Regions from separate parts of the Homo sapiens genome. Here regions 1 and 3 are each linked to region 2. Evidence: promoter capture Hi-C in 16 types of primary human blood cells and fetal thymus (Javierre and others, 2016). All regions are on one chromosome and are shown on one strand. Each heading gives the region's core, a stretch centred on a gene start or on the middle of the fragment in contact. The rest is flanking DNA. Distances are from core to core; before and after follow the strand shown.

The links. Contacts are between HindIII fragments. The CHiCAGO score rates a contact against its expected background, and 5 or more counts as called.
Region 1: a fragment that was not itself captured here is called in contact with the fragment with the promoter of PKP2 in region 2 in 1 of 17 cell types (M2 macrophages); the score reaches 5.5 in M2 macrophages.
Region 3: a fragment that was not itself captured here is called in contact with the fragment with the promoter of PKP2 in region 2 in 1 of 17 cell types (M2 macrophages); the score reaches 5.1 in M2 macrophages.

Annotation. Positions count from the first base shown.
Region 1 is chr12:33,528,986-33,533,471 of GRCh38, reverse strand. No RefSeq gene overlaps it. Among named protein-coding and RNA genes, the nearest start is that of SYT10, 91 kb to the right of the region's middle. The HindIII fragment of the contact is 3,435 bases long and covers 1-3,361 here.
Region 2 is chr12:32,893,582-32,898,242 of GRCh38, reverse strand. PKP2 (plakophilin 2) reads left to right here and starts at 1,466. Exons shown (of 13, transcript NM_001005242.3): 1 at 1,466-1,734. The coding sequence starts at 1,512. RefSeq lists silencers at 1,058-1,157, 1,358-1,467. The HindIII fragment of the contact is 4,432 bases long and covers 1-4,368 here.
Region 3 is chr12:33,586,943-33,591,360 of GRCh38, reverse strand. No RefSeq gene overlaps it. Among named protein-coding and RNA genes, the nearest start is that of SYT10, 150 kb to the right of the region's middle. RefSeq lists a cis regulatory region at 2,619-3,487 and an enhancer at 2,833-3,753. The HindIII fragment of the contact is 2,725 bases long and covers 1-2,641 here.

The DNA of each region.
Region 1 (4,486 bases), core at 395-2,894, 640 kb before region 2:
AAAAAGAAGGAAGGAAAAGAGACTGTGATGGGGTTTGGATCTCTCAGGCTCTGTCATTAAAATTATCACATTATGGATATGTGCATTAAAATAAGTTCTTTCATCCAAAATATATAGTGAACTCTGAACTTCCTTGCATGGGTTTACAATGTGTTACACTTCAAAATAAAAAAAAAAACAATATTACGGTTTACATTTACTGTTAGCATTTTTATGCTTAGCTTTTTTTCTTTTTTTTTTTCCTTTTCTTGCGGGGGGCGGGGTTGTTGTTTCCTTGTTTGTTTTTGCATCAACCAATATACTCAGATTCCCATTATAACTTCATCTCCCGAAGGAAAAGAGACACTAGCAAGCAATTGTTTATACCAAGGATGAAGAATATTTATTCTAAAAATACCTGAAGTTAACAAGTAAGGACAGCTTGGCTCAGCACATACAGGGGGGAAAATACCGTTTATCTGTATCAGGCCATATGCACATCTCTTCCCTCCCCCTGTCTGCATACCTCAACATCAGACCAATTTCAGCCCTTGGATATTTGATAGAATTAAAGATGGGCATTAGCCATCACCTGTAGAGAACCTACCTCTGACAAAAGAATGAGAAACAGATATGGTTTAACATGATAGTATCAAGTGAGTATACTAGGGAATTCTTGCTTAATGATTCTGAATCTTCAAATATTTTTCTCAGAAATATGGCAATGAGGAAGTAAAGTTGTTCACATTTTTCATAAAATGAATGATGGTTCACTTATACCATACAAGGTAATAAGAATTTCATCCTCAATTTAATAAATGATATTAATTTCAATCATTTCCATGTTCTTCTTAAACACATGCAATTGATTCTGACTAAAAGCTCACCCATGGCAAACTTGATTTGACCGCTGGAGGCTAGAACTCTTAATTAGCTGTGATGTAGACACCAAAACTAAGGTTCTTTAGCTCATTTAGGTCAGTTATATTTGCTATTCTCACACCTGTACATGAAGAAAATTTTGCCTATTTCCAAACACTGATTTTTAACCCTTACAGGACTAACAGTTTTCTAGGAATATTTGCTATTCTTATTATTTCTGCTTGATATTGCCCACAGGGATGTTTTTTAGGACTAAGTATTCCCCACTTCTTTCTTTGACTTTTTGTAGCATATAAAACAAACAATGATTCACTTTTCTTTTGTTAGAGGATGCTCACCAAGCACTTCTTTATAAAATAATTTATGGTCTTTCAGCTCATTCATTAAAAAATTATATGTGTAGTAAATTTAGTGCTGAGAAGAGAACCTTCAAATGGCCCATGAAGATTGTCAGAAACCATGCTGCCTGATGAAGAGTATCTGCAAAGCATGCCCTTAAATCTTTCTGAGTTCTCAACAAAGAGTTTTACAGTCACATTCATTATACTTTTGGCTTCATCTTTATCTGGAAACTGTGTTTTCCTGATAGCACACTTGATCTTTGCCCTGATGCACTATCTTGCTTCTAGAATATACTGCTAAAAAGAGACTGAGAATAAAAAAGAGTTTCATTTTCTGTCTTTTTTTTTTTTTTTTTTTTTGAGACAGAGTCTTGCTCTGTCACCCAGGCTGGAGTGCAGTGGCATGATTTTGGCTCACTGCAAACTCCACCTCGATTGTCCTGCCTTAGCCTCCTGAGTAACTGGGATTACAGGCACACGCCACCATGCTCAACTAATTTTTGTGGTTTTAGTAGAGATGGGGTTTCCCCATGTTGGTCAGGCTGGTCTCGAACTCCTGACCTCGTGATCCACCTGCCTTGGCCTTCCAAAGTGCTGGGATTGCAGGCGTAAACCACCGCACCTGGCCGAAAGTTTCATTATCTATCTCAGCAAATCCTGGCTCCTTTATATTATCTTTAAATTCTTCATGACGATTGAATAATAGCTTCTTTATATGATATCTCTCTATCTGTACCTTATTATTAGCAACTAAAAGAAGCCTGCTGGCACTTTTGACATTCTGTCTGGAAGCTCCCTAAAATAGATCCATCAGTTCAGTACGTGAAGCTCCGGTTTTCTGTATTGCCTTGGGTGACAGTTTTGCTGTGTTTCCTATCACTACATAATGAGGAATGGCCAAGAGGACTTCTTGACTCACATGTTGGGCATTCGGGCAGGAGTGGCTGGAACAGCGGAGGCAAGGTGGGCCTCTGCTCGTAGCTTCTCCACATAAGGAGCTTAGGCTTCTTCATAGCATGGCAGTCTCAGGATAGTCAGTCTTCTCATGTAGCAGCTGCATTCCCCTAAGAAAATATTTCAGAAGACAGAAATAGGAAACTACCAGTTTCCTTCGTTCTAGTCCTGGAAACAGCCACAGAATTAGTTCCAGCATATTCTATTTGTCAAAGCAGTCAGAGACCCTACCCAGATTTAAAGGGAGGGAACACAGCCTCTCCAAAGTATGAATATCAAATAATTTGCAGCTACCTTTCATTGTCCATATTTAATCCATGCTCTCCCCCTCCCCATTCCACTGAGTTTGAATCCTGTATCCCGCCATGTAATTGGCAGGTTCATGTGGATGTCCCAAAAGCATCTGACCAAGACAAAAGCCAAACTCACTTCTCCAGTGTTTCCTGCAGTAGTGAAGGACTCTGTCACTTATCAAAAAATTGGAGGTTGTCTTTGAAACTTCTCACACACTATATGCAATGCATCACCAACTGCTAATAATTTTACTTCATATGTATCATTATTTGCTTTTTTTTTTTTTTTTTTTTTTGAGATGGAGTCTTGCTTGTCACCCAGGCCGGAGTACACTGGTGTGATCTCGGCTCATTGCAACCTCCACCTCCTTGGTTCAAGCAACTCCCCTGCCTCAGCCTCCCAAGTAGCTGGGATTACAGGTGCGCGCCACTACACCCAGCTAATTTTTTTGTATTTTTAGTAGAGACAGGTTTCATCATGTTGGCTAGACTGGTCTTGAACTCCTGACTTCAGGCAATCCACCCACCTCGGCCTCCCAAAGTGCTGGGATTACAGGCATGAGCCACGGCGCCTGGCCATTATTTGCTGTTTTTAATCTGCTAGACATCCTTTCTAGAACTGCTATTTCTTGAGAATAATTTATCATTCAGATAGAAAAAGAATTGTGAAAAATTAACAATTATCTTAGAACTGCTTATTTCTTGTTTACAAAGCCAAAAGTCAGCAAGAATCTACATATTCCCCCCTCCACTTTGATTAAAAGCTGCATAGTTTTAATTAATGTCCTACAAACCATATGAATTAAAAAATTGTAGGAGGAAGAAAAGATGGTGTTGTTCTATAAAAGAATGAATTGCCACTTATTCCTTGGACAATGAAACTGTGCTTTGTAATACAGTTTGCATAAAGCTTTAAGATAGATAACTTTGCCAATTTTAGGAAGCTGTGCTTTCTGACTGTGAACTATACCACTGAAGTTATGTAACGCTGAGGCATGATTTCAACTTCATTCCTCATTTAGCTGACTTATTTTCATCACATTTCTATTGAACTTCTGTTTTTTTACTTTTGTCCTAGGACTGTACCAAGCTAGACATACTTCTGTTTATGAAGGGGAGATAAACCACTTGCCCTTCAATTTTAATCTCCCCTCATTCTATCAAATACATTTCTTACCAAGCTGAAGTCTAGTTTTCAATCTCTGGTCCAGGCTTTCCTCTGTCATGGGTAGGCTGCCTTCTAACCCTTGGTTAGTAGGAATATTTCAACTGTTATTAGGTTTGCAGTAAGACACCATACACAAATATAACTTTTTAAGTTTAAAATGAATTAATACCGAGTGTATGTCTGTGTCTATATGTAAATATAGACACATACATTTGGCTTATAATAAAATCTGATTTGTTACTTGTTTAAATTTGTGGAATGCTATACCCTCATCACAAAATAGTAACTACTATTATTAAGTGCTCATTTTGTTTCTAAAACTCACACAATATTGCAAGATCTTTATTATTCTATAATTTTTACAGATAAAAAATCTTAGTCTCTATCTTTAAGTGACTTTTAGGTCATATAGTAAATGGTAATCTGGAATGGCCTTCATGGTGCAGCTCTTTTGATCATACAACATGAATCCCATATAACCATGGAACCATTATTTGTGTTTCTGTCATAGCCCACATCACACATCTGCCATGTACTTAAATTATTTCTAAGCATGCTTGTCTTTCCCATTGTATTTTAGAGTCCACGCTTCCCTACTTAATAGCTTTTTAACATTGCAAAATGTATAACTTCCCTATTTCTTGTTTCTCATGTATGCAAAATGAGGGGGCTGAACTAGAAAGTCTTCATGGTCCCTTTTAATCCTAGTATTCAGGAATATCTATGACGGTGAATTCCTTGGAATAAAGCATTTATTCATCCTACAATTTACAGTCCAGTGCATTGTACCTGGTAAGTATTCCATAAATGTTTATTGAGTGACATTATAATGTAAAAATAATTAGCGTTTAAAAATCCATTTATAAATG
Region 2 (4,661 bases), core at 217-2,716:
GGACTCACATCCATATGGCTCCCACTTAGCCATGTGGCCTGCTGACAAAGGGTGGCGGAACTGTCACTACTCTGTTGTCCACGCTTTCAGTCCTTTGGTTTCCTCTTCACTCCCTGGACGCTCATGTAAAAAGGGAGGCCATATACCTGTGCATTGTGTGTCTAAGCATTCAGTGTGTGTCTAAAGGCAGAAGGGTGTGGGTAGGAAAACAAAGACGAGGGAAGCTGCGTTCTCCAAACACTTCAGACTTGAGTAAGTGGGGTTTTGCAGCAATTGAGTGATTTGAGGGAAAGTGAACATACAAACCCAAGCAATCAAAGGGAATATTATCTTAATACCAGGGATACATGTTTTTCTTTCTGCCTCTTAAGTCCAAAGAGGCAAATCAGGACAAGTGGCTTTGGTTGTAAACTTTAAGGTCAAGGATCCTTTCTGTTGAGCTTAGCTCTCAAGTTCTCAGTAGTCAACTGCGGTGAAACATAATTAATAGCACGATAAATACAAGTTGTGGAAGATTCGATTGAAAGTTGGAGGCCCTCTCCGTGGATCTCTCTACAAAGAGCCTGTAATAAAGAGGACTTAATCAACGTTAGCAGGGCTATTTAAAAAGCATCGTCTATTAAAATTCATTTCTTCTCTAGAGCCTCTTGTTGGAGTTTCTCTGTGTGGGTGTGTTCGTAAGAGAGGAATGGGTTAGCAAGAGTACTGGGTACAATTTGTGTATCCAAGAGAAAACAGAAGCTCTCAATGAGGAAGAACATATGTTTCTGGGACTGCATCTGTGCAAAAAGTACATAGTCCTGACGTTGTACTAAGAAAAAAAACACTCTCTTTAGAAAGTCTTTTATTTCACACGTTATCTTCTTGGCACATTTCCCTCATATTGCCCTTTCCGCCTGACCAAATAGCCCTTTCTCACCCTCAGGTCCAGGAAAACCAGGAAACGTTTCCAACAGTGCGACAAAGCCTGACTAACCAGACATACTACTCGCTCGGGGATCCCGGAGGCAAGCCTCAGTCCAAGAACAGGAGTGACTCTCGAGGGCTCACCTGCCTGCAGGGCAGCCCCTCCCTGCATCGAGCGGAAATCCATCCTGTCCAGCGCGGGGCGTGGGCAGAGCGGGGCGCGGCCCCGGCAGGCGGTATCCGCTGGGACTCCGACAACGTGCGCGACCCCAGGCGAACCGCGCCCCTCTCCCCACCTCCCCGCGGGCGGGTACAAGTCTCCAGGTGTCCGCGCGCTCAGCGGGTCCGGCCCGCCCCCGCCCCCGCCCCCGGGCCCGACTGCGCGTGCCCGGCCGGAGCCGCGCCCCCTCCTCAGGGAAGGCCGGGCGTCCGGCCCACGAGGCCGAGCTCCCCCCCGGCCCGGGCCTCTCACCGGCGCGGGGGGCGGGCCAGGGGCGGGGCCGGACTCGAGCGGGGCGGGGCTCGCGCCAGCGCCCCCAGCTCCGTGGCGGCTTCGCCCGCGAGTCCAGAGGCAGGCGAGCAGCTCGGTCGCCCCCACCGGCCCCATGGCAGCCCCCGGCGCCCCAGCTGAGTACGGCTACATCCGGACCGTCCTGGGCCAGCAGATCCTGGGACAACTGGACAGCTCCAGCCTGGCGCTGCCCTCCGAGGCCAAGCTGAAGCTGGCGGGGAGCAGCGGCCGCGGCGGCCAGACAGTCAAGAGCCTGCGGATCCAGGAGCAGGTGCAGCAGACCCTCGCCCGGAAGGGCCGCAGCTCCGTGGGCAACGGTGAGTGGAGCCCGCCGCTCCCCGGCGCCGCCCCCTGCCCCACACCCGGTCACCTCCTCCTATCCCGCCCTCACCCCGCGTGCTGGGAGTGCGGGACCCCGTGTTCTGCCCACCTGTTGCTCGCCGTCTTCGGTATGACCGACTTGCTTGTGGAAAGCACTCTTTTCCATAACCTATTACTCAGCTTTGTCATATAGGTACCTATGTATATTAAATATTGTACATATCTATCAATGTTAACTAACTCACTTCAAGATTTCACCCCTTTCTTTTTCTACTCCGCCGGTCCGCGCCCCTCACTGGTGCGGACTTAATTTGAAGGTTCAGGGAGTCTATAAACACCTTGAGATGCTATGCAGAATTTTTGGTGTGTACGATCTTTTTCTGGGAGAAGGAGCCCTTCAATTTTATTAGATTTGTTAAATAATTAATGACCCCCATAAATATCTTGGGGAAAAAAACCGACAGCACTGGCGCTCCTACAACCTATAAATTGGGATTGTGCTGTCTTATGCAAGTACTTCGGGGCGCTCCACCCTGTGTGGGAGGCGAGTGGTGGATCTAGGGAGTGAAGAAAAGTAGTTAGGAGGCTTTGGTCCAGGGAACAAACACGCCGAGGAGGAGGTAGGGGACTTTGGCCCTGCCGGCAACAGCCGTGCCCGCCTAGCTGCGCTTCCTACCCCCACCAGTGCGGGCGTGATGCAAGTCTGATCCCTCCAAAAAATTAAACCCGAAGGTGAAAGGGGTGTAAGCACACACATGCACACTATGTTCATGATTGATAGACGGGGGAGGTGGAAGGGAAAGAAGATGGCAAGCCACTTGTGAAAATTAGAGATCATGATGTATCCTTTTCTCCCCTGCTGAAGTCAGGTGATGGGATCAACTCAGTGACCCTTGTTTTACTTCTTGTTGCTGTGTATGTGAGTTTGCATTATAAAAGCACTATGTTGGCTTATAGCAAAAAGAAGAGGAAAGAAATTGAGCAATTAAGTTGGAATATCTGTTTCCTGCAACGTTCAGTTGTTTCTGTATGAAGTAACTTGGGCATTGGCGAATGTAGGCTAACCCATTCTAGTTTCTATTAGGAAAACAGAAAAATTCTAACAGGCCAGACCAGAGATTTCAAACAGCAGAGTCTGGGAGGCTGTACTGTGTGTGTAAAAGAATCCTAAAGGATGACGTAGTCAATATTAACATACTTGAAAGGTAAAGAGAAGATGTTCAATGATCGTAGTTAATATAACTGAGTGCATACTATGTGCCAAGAATTGGGCGATGTGGTTTGCATTCATTTGAGATATATATATATATATGTATTTAAAAACTTGTGAGTTAGGTATTTTCATCCTCATTTTACAGATGAGGAAACTAAGCAGTTAAGTAACACTGAAGCTCTAATAGATGGTAAGTGGCAGAGCTGGTATTTAAACTCCCAAACCTGAATTTTAAACTTATCAGTTTTATCATTAAGTTTTAAAATGATTAATACAAAGTGGGATTTGTTAGATGCTAAGCCTCTCCGTGGCCCCCTCCCATTTTTCTTTAAATAAAATTGAGGAAGTTCTGAAAGGCTGGGGAGGTCTAGAAAACACAGAACTGCTGCAATACATGGAGGGAAAGACCTTATATTTATTTAGACTTAGGGGTCTGACTAAAGACTGCGGGATGAGTGAGGCCAGTCTTTGAAAAGTGGAGCCATTACACCCATTCATTCTCTGTGCCCATAGGTCCAGTGCTAAACTGAAACCAAATCAGCTTCCCCTGCGTAGGAGACACAGGAGGCATATTAGATATTCTTTCTTATCCTCTGAGAATGGCCAGCTAGGAAGAGAGCAAGCAGATACAACTCTTCCATAAATGGAGGGAATGGAGCCATGAACAGAAGAAAAGGGAATGTTGCTGAGCATCTACTATGTGCCTATTCCAGAATCTTCATTATATTCTTGAAACAATTGCTGAGATAGATATGAGAATCCATCTCACATATGAAGTATGTGTCTGTCAGCAATGGTTGGAAATTTAATCCCAACTCCACACATAATCTGTTCTTTCTACAAAGTAATGCATCACCTGTGTGATGAATTCAGCAAGCATCAAATGAGTATGTTCTTCATGCCGGGCGCTGTGCAGGTGCTGAATTAAACACAAAGACTCTGCTTGCTTTAAAGCAAAAAGTTTGAAGAAGGAAGCCAACCGCTAGAAAAATACATTACCAAATAAAAAGTAGTAAGTGACCCAAAAGAATGGCTAATATATTATGGAGTTTAGAAGTGTAAATTGGCTGGGCGCAGTGACTCATGCCTGTAATTGCAGCACTTTGGGAGGCCGAGGCGGGAGGATCACCTGAGGTCGGGAGTTTGAGACCAGCCTGACCAACATGGTAAAATCCCATCTCTACTAAAAATACAAAATTAGCCGGGCGTGGTGGCACATGCCGGTAATCCCAGCTACTCAGCTACTCGGAAGGCTGAGGCAGGAGAATCGCTTGAACCCGGGAGGTAGAAGTTGCAGTGAGCGGAGATCTCGCCATTGCACTCCAGCCTGAGCAACAAGAGCGAAACGCCATCTCAAAAAAAAAAAAAAAAAAAAAAAAAGTAAGTTACTCCTGGTGGCAGGAAATTTTGAAAAGCTTCCTGGAGGTAGATCTCAAAAATTCAGTAGGACTGGACATAGGGAGGTGACTGGAGAAAGATCATTCTAGGAGGGAACAGAATGAATATTTCACAGTTCACAGAGTTGATATGGTAGAACAAAGGGCACTATCTTGGTCCTTCTGCTATAATGCTTGGGTCAACTACTTGACTGGCTGTTCCAACTAAGGAACAAAGCGTTTGAAATATTTTGATTGCAACAGCAGCTTTCCAGTAAGCTGAAATACACTCTGCAGCCTACACAGAAGTACAAATCAGACAGAGAGATAAGGC
Region 3 (4,418 bases), core at 30-2,529, 690 kb before region 2:
TGTCTAAGATTTGCCTCATGGTTTTTCGGCTATAAACCTAGTATTTCTCCAGAAATCCACCTAACTGTACTAGCCAAAAGCATGTAAGATATGCTTATGGAAATAACTGCAAATATCTTTAGTTCTGCCTTGATTTAAATTATAATTGACAACAGAGGCCAGAGAATGGGATGAAAATTATTATTGACACAATTGCTTCTGAGTGTGGAAAGCACTAGCTAGCTATTATCCCTGACTTAGCTAGAAAAGCAAGGTAGTAAATACTTATGCTTCCTTTGTAGTCCTTATAGATCTGCACATTTAAAAAATATATTTTGATACTAATCATTTGTCAGTTGTGTGTAGTACATGACTTGATATTTGTCAGATTTATTGAATGATGATTTGTGAGTTTATGAGATAGCTTATGAGAGTTCCATATAAATTAAATAGTAATAAATAAGAATGATTACAGTCAGGAGTAAGTATATATAGAGAGAGATATATACAGATATTTATATATATTCCTTAGGTAGTTTTACAGGTGGGTTAGGAAAAGTACAGTCACCCTCAACTTCTCTGGATAACAAAGAATTTGATTATTAAAAATAGTCACTTACCCAAGATGAATATTTATGACAGCAAGATCACATGATTTTATTTCATTTACAACTCAGGTTCCTCTTAGAAAAAAGTGGATGGGAAAGGCCCCACTCCCTTTGAAAGAATGAGATCATTGTATTTAATAAGATCTTTCAAAGAGAGCAAGGAAAATGAAAAGCAGGAAAACATTGCAGGGCAGAAACACCTGGCTATCTTGGCCACACTCCACTTCATTCTTTACTCCAATGCACATGCCTATGTGTTTGTCCTGCCCTTTTCAATAAATGAAGAAGAATAGGTCCACTTGGTTACAAACCCATGAACTCTTCAGCTTTCACCTGTTCTGATTGTTTCTGTGCTTTGGGGAAAGGGGCGTGTTCTGCCCTTTTCCAGGTCCATGTAAGTGTCACAGAGTTCTTGTTAATCATCATTACAAAGTTTGCCCTGTCTTCTGAGGAAAAAAAATCAAATTGAAAAACCTTAAAAGTGTCAAAAATAAATTGTAAATGTGATCATGGTTGTTTCAAAATTTCTGAACATTTTCAGAGCTTTAATATAAAAGCACCCTAAGGCCATCAAATTCAAATTAATCAAAGCCTTTGCAAAGTTTAGTGCTCTATGGTCGAAGGAGTAGCAGATTCTAACATTAATCCACAGGCTTCTAGGAAGCTGATGGAAAAGAATGAAGCCCCATGTAGCTAGGTCTGCTTCCTGCCATTATTCTGTGGTGGAGAGGAAGCAGGGGTTCTCTGTGTGGATCCTTTGCAAGGAGGACCCATTAATGAAGGCAAAAATGAACATGGCTGGCGTGAGGTGGCATATGAAAAAGAGGAACTACAGAAATTTTCACACTTCCAAATGTGTTCCATGTAAAGGGCTACCTTATCTGCAGGTTCATTTTATAGTACGGTGTCATTAGTTATCACTCACTTGGCTCTCCTGCTGCTTCACACATTGTTCCTTACCCATTTCCTTTGGTGTTTCATCCTCCTCTCCCTGACTTTATGAGGTTGGAGTAGGCCAGAGCTCTGTCTTTGCTTTTCTTCTCTTCTTTATGCTCACTCTCTGTGTGGCCTCCTTCAGGCTCATGGGTTTAAGTGCCATCTATTGTGAATCTCCAGTCGAAAATGCTCCCCAACAATAGAGATTTTTTTATTTAACTGCCTACTGGAATCTCTACTTGGGTGTCTAAATACATCTCAAACTCAGAAAAATCCAAACTGAGCCTCTGATGCCCATGCCTCTGTCCCCTGAGGTGTCTCATACAGCCTTTTCCATCACTATTGATGGTCACTTCATCTTTCCATTTATTCAGGACAAAACAAAATTGAGTCTTCTTTTTCTTATGCTCTATATCCAATCTGTTAGAAAATCCTGTTTGTTTTCTATTTAAAATATATTCAGAGTCTAATTGTTTTCCATTGTTTCCACTATTACTGCTCTGCTCCAACCCACTGTCATTTCTTATATGAATGATTTCAATAGTTTCCTAATAGAACTTGTTTTTATAAGCCCAACCCCACTAAGTGAAGCCAGAGCTTAGCAGACAGATTGGTCCTTTCACCATGTATGTCAGATTACAACACTCAAATCTTGTCTCTGTTTTACTCAAAACTCTCCAATGCCTCTTCACACAATGGCCTACTAGGATCTACATCATCTGCCTGAACTACTCCTCTCTTGACATTATCTCTAACCAATTTCCCCTCGTTTATTCTACTCCAGCCACAATGCTGTTCTCAAATACTTAAGCAAATTTCCACCATATGGCTTCTGCACCGTTTGTTCGCTCTGCTTGATTATTCTTCCGCTATATATCCACATAGCTAACTCCTCACCTGTTTCTCAAATGTCACTTTCTCAATAAGCTGTACCATGCCCCTATTTAAGAGAGTGGTCCACCCCCACCAGTCCACCACTCCTGCTCATTGTCCATTCCTTTCACCCTACTTTAGTGCCACACACACACACCTGCTGCACTATAGCATTCCCAGCTTCCAGCAGATAGTACTTCTTTTTTTAATTTTCTAACTTCCTTCCCATAATAGAAATATAAGCTTCATGAAGAGAATGATCTTTGTCTTTTTTTTTTTTTTGGTAAATTTCTGATGTACTCTAACTGTTACCAGGGGGTCCCAGTTACCCCCCAAAATGGGCCTTTTCCTGTTCAGTGTCACAAGCAAGTATACGAAACTGAAAGTGAGCATTAGACAGTACAGGCTTTATCTGATGGCCATAAAATGCAGAAGTGGGAGTGTGGCTCTCAAATCAACTTATCACCTCCTGAGAGAGAACCAGGGAGTTACAGATATAGGGTATCTTCAGTGAAGGGGCTGGGCATTAAAAGCAAGCAGGGGAATATTTATGCTTTTCTTGGTAAGGAATGGAGATTTCCTAGGAGTCGCCTCTTTTCTGTCATTTTTTCATTTCTTCTGGTCATTGTCATGGTGATTATCAACTGTCAAGGCATCCAGGGGTGAGTCATTTGTCATGAAAATTGGATTACAATGAAGCTAGAGATTCATCAGAGGTCAAGCAAACTGCCAACATGGATTTCGCAAGTTTCAACTGGTTTAGTTCTAAGAATAAACTTTTGATCACAGACATGCTGTTTCCTAACAAAGTTAAGGCTGAGTAGGAATTCAGCTGTGTCATGTAGACATTGCCTTGGGCAACAAAAGCAGGGTAGGGGTCCAGCTAAGTCACATAGGCCCTGCAGCCGGTAATAGGAATTCAGCTATGTCATGTAGACATTGCCTTGGGCAACAAAAGCGGGGTAGGGGTCCAGCTAAGTCACATAGGCCCTGCAGCCGGTAATAGGAATTCAGCTATGTCATGTAGACATTGCCTTGGGCAACAAAAGCGGGGTAGGGGTCCAGCTAAGTCACATAGGCCCTGCAGCCGGTAACATAACCACAGACTCAGAGCAGGTGCTTAGTAAATATTTGCTGAATTACTGAATTGGAATTTTACATATTTATAAAAATTATTTAGATTCAGTGTTACCACTTAATGTCTAATTTTTCCCAGGCTTTATACTTAATAAAAGCAAGTATTATGTCCATCTTGTTCACTATTATACCTGTAAACTAGGCATGCTGACCAATATATAATAGGTACTCAAAGAATATTTGCTGAATGTGTAATCACCAAGGACAACAATGACAGATCTTTTAAAATTACTCAAAAACCATATATAGAAAAAAAATCGACAATGTGATTTAATCATGACTAATTCTGGATTTTGAATCCTCTCACCAAAGCACTCCTTTTCCTAGGGCAGATCATGTTACTCCACAAAGGAGCATAAAAGTGGCCAAGTTGTATGCCTTTCCCATAGTTCACACATTAGTCAATCTCAGTCAATCCATTAGTAAATCTTACTGAGAACTTGGGCAGACCTTGTTAACTTTCAGAGACCCTGGCCTTGATTCATAGAAATAGTCAGATGCCTGATCTATGGGTCTAATACCTATATTCCTCATTTGGCAATTAACCTGGAACAATATTGTATTAATTCTAATAATCTTTTAATTTTGTGTTGTTATTCAACTCATGTTTTCTTTTCTTATGTATGTGCACATGCATTTGTTGCATTTCCTCTGAGTAGTTCACAAACTGCTTGAGATCAGGAACTACATCATATTTCTTTGAATCTTAATTACATAATTTTTTGTTTCTTGGGTTTGGATTGCATGGTCATAGGTTCAGCCGTAACTTGAATGTCTATAATTCCTAAATCAAGCTAACGTTAAAAATACAGATGTCGCCAGTAATGTTAATAAATATTTTCCAAACATTCCGATTACCCAGAAGGGACCTAGAAAAAAGGTCAA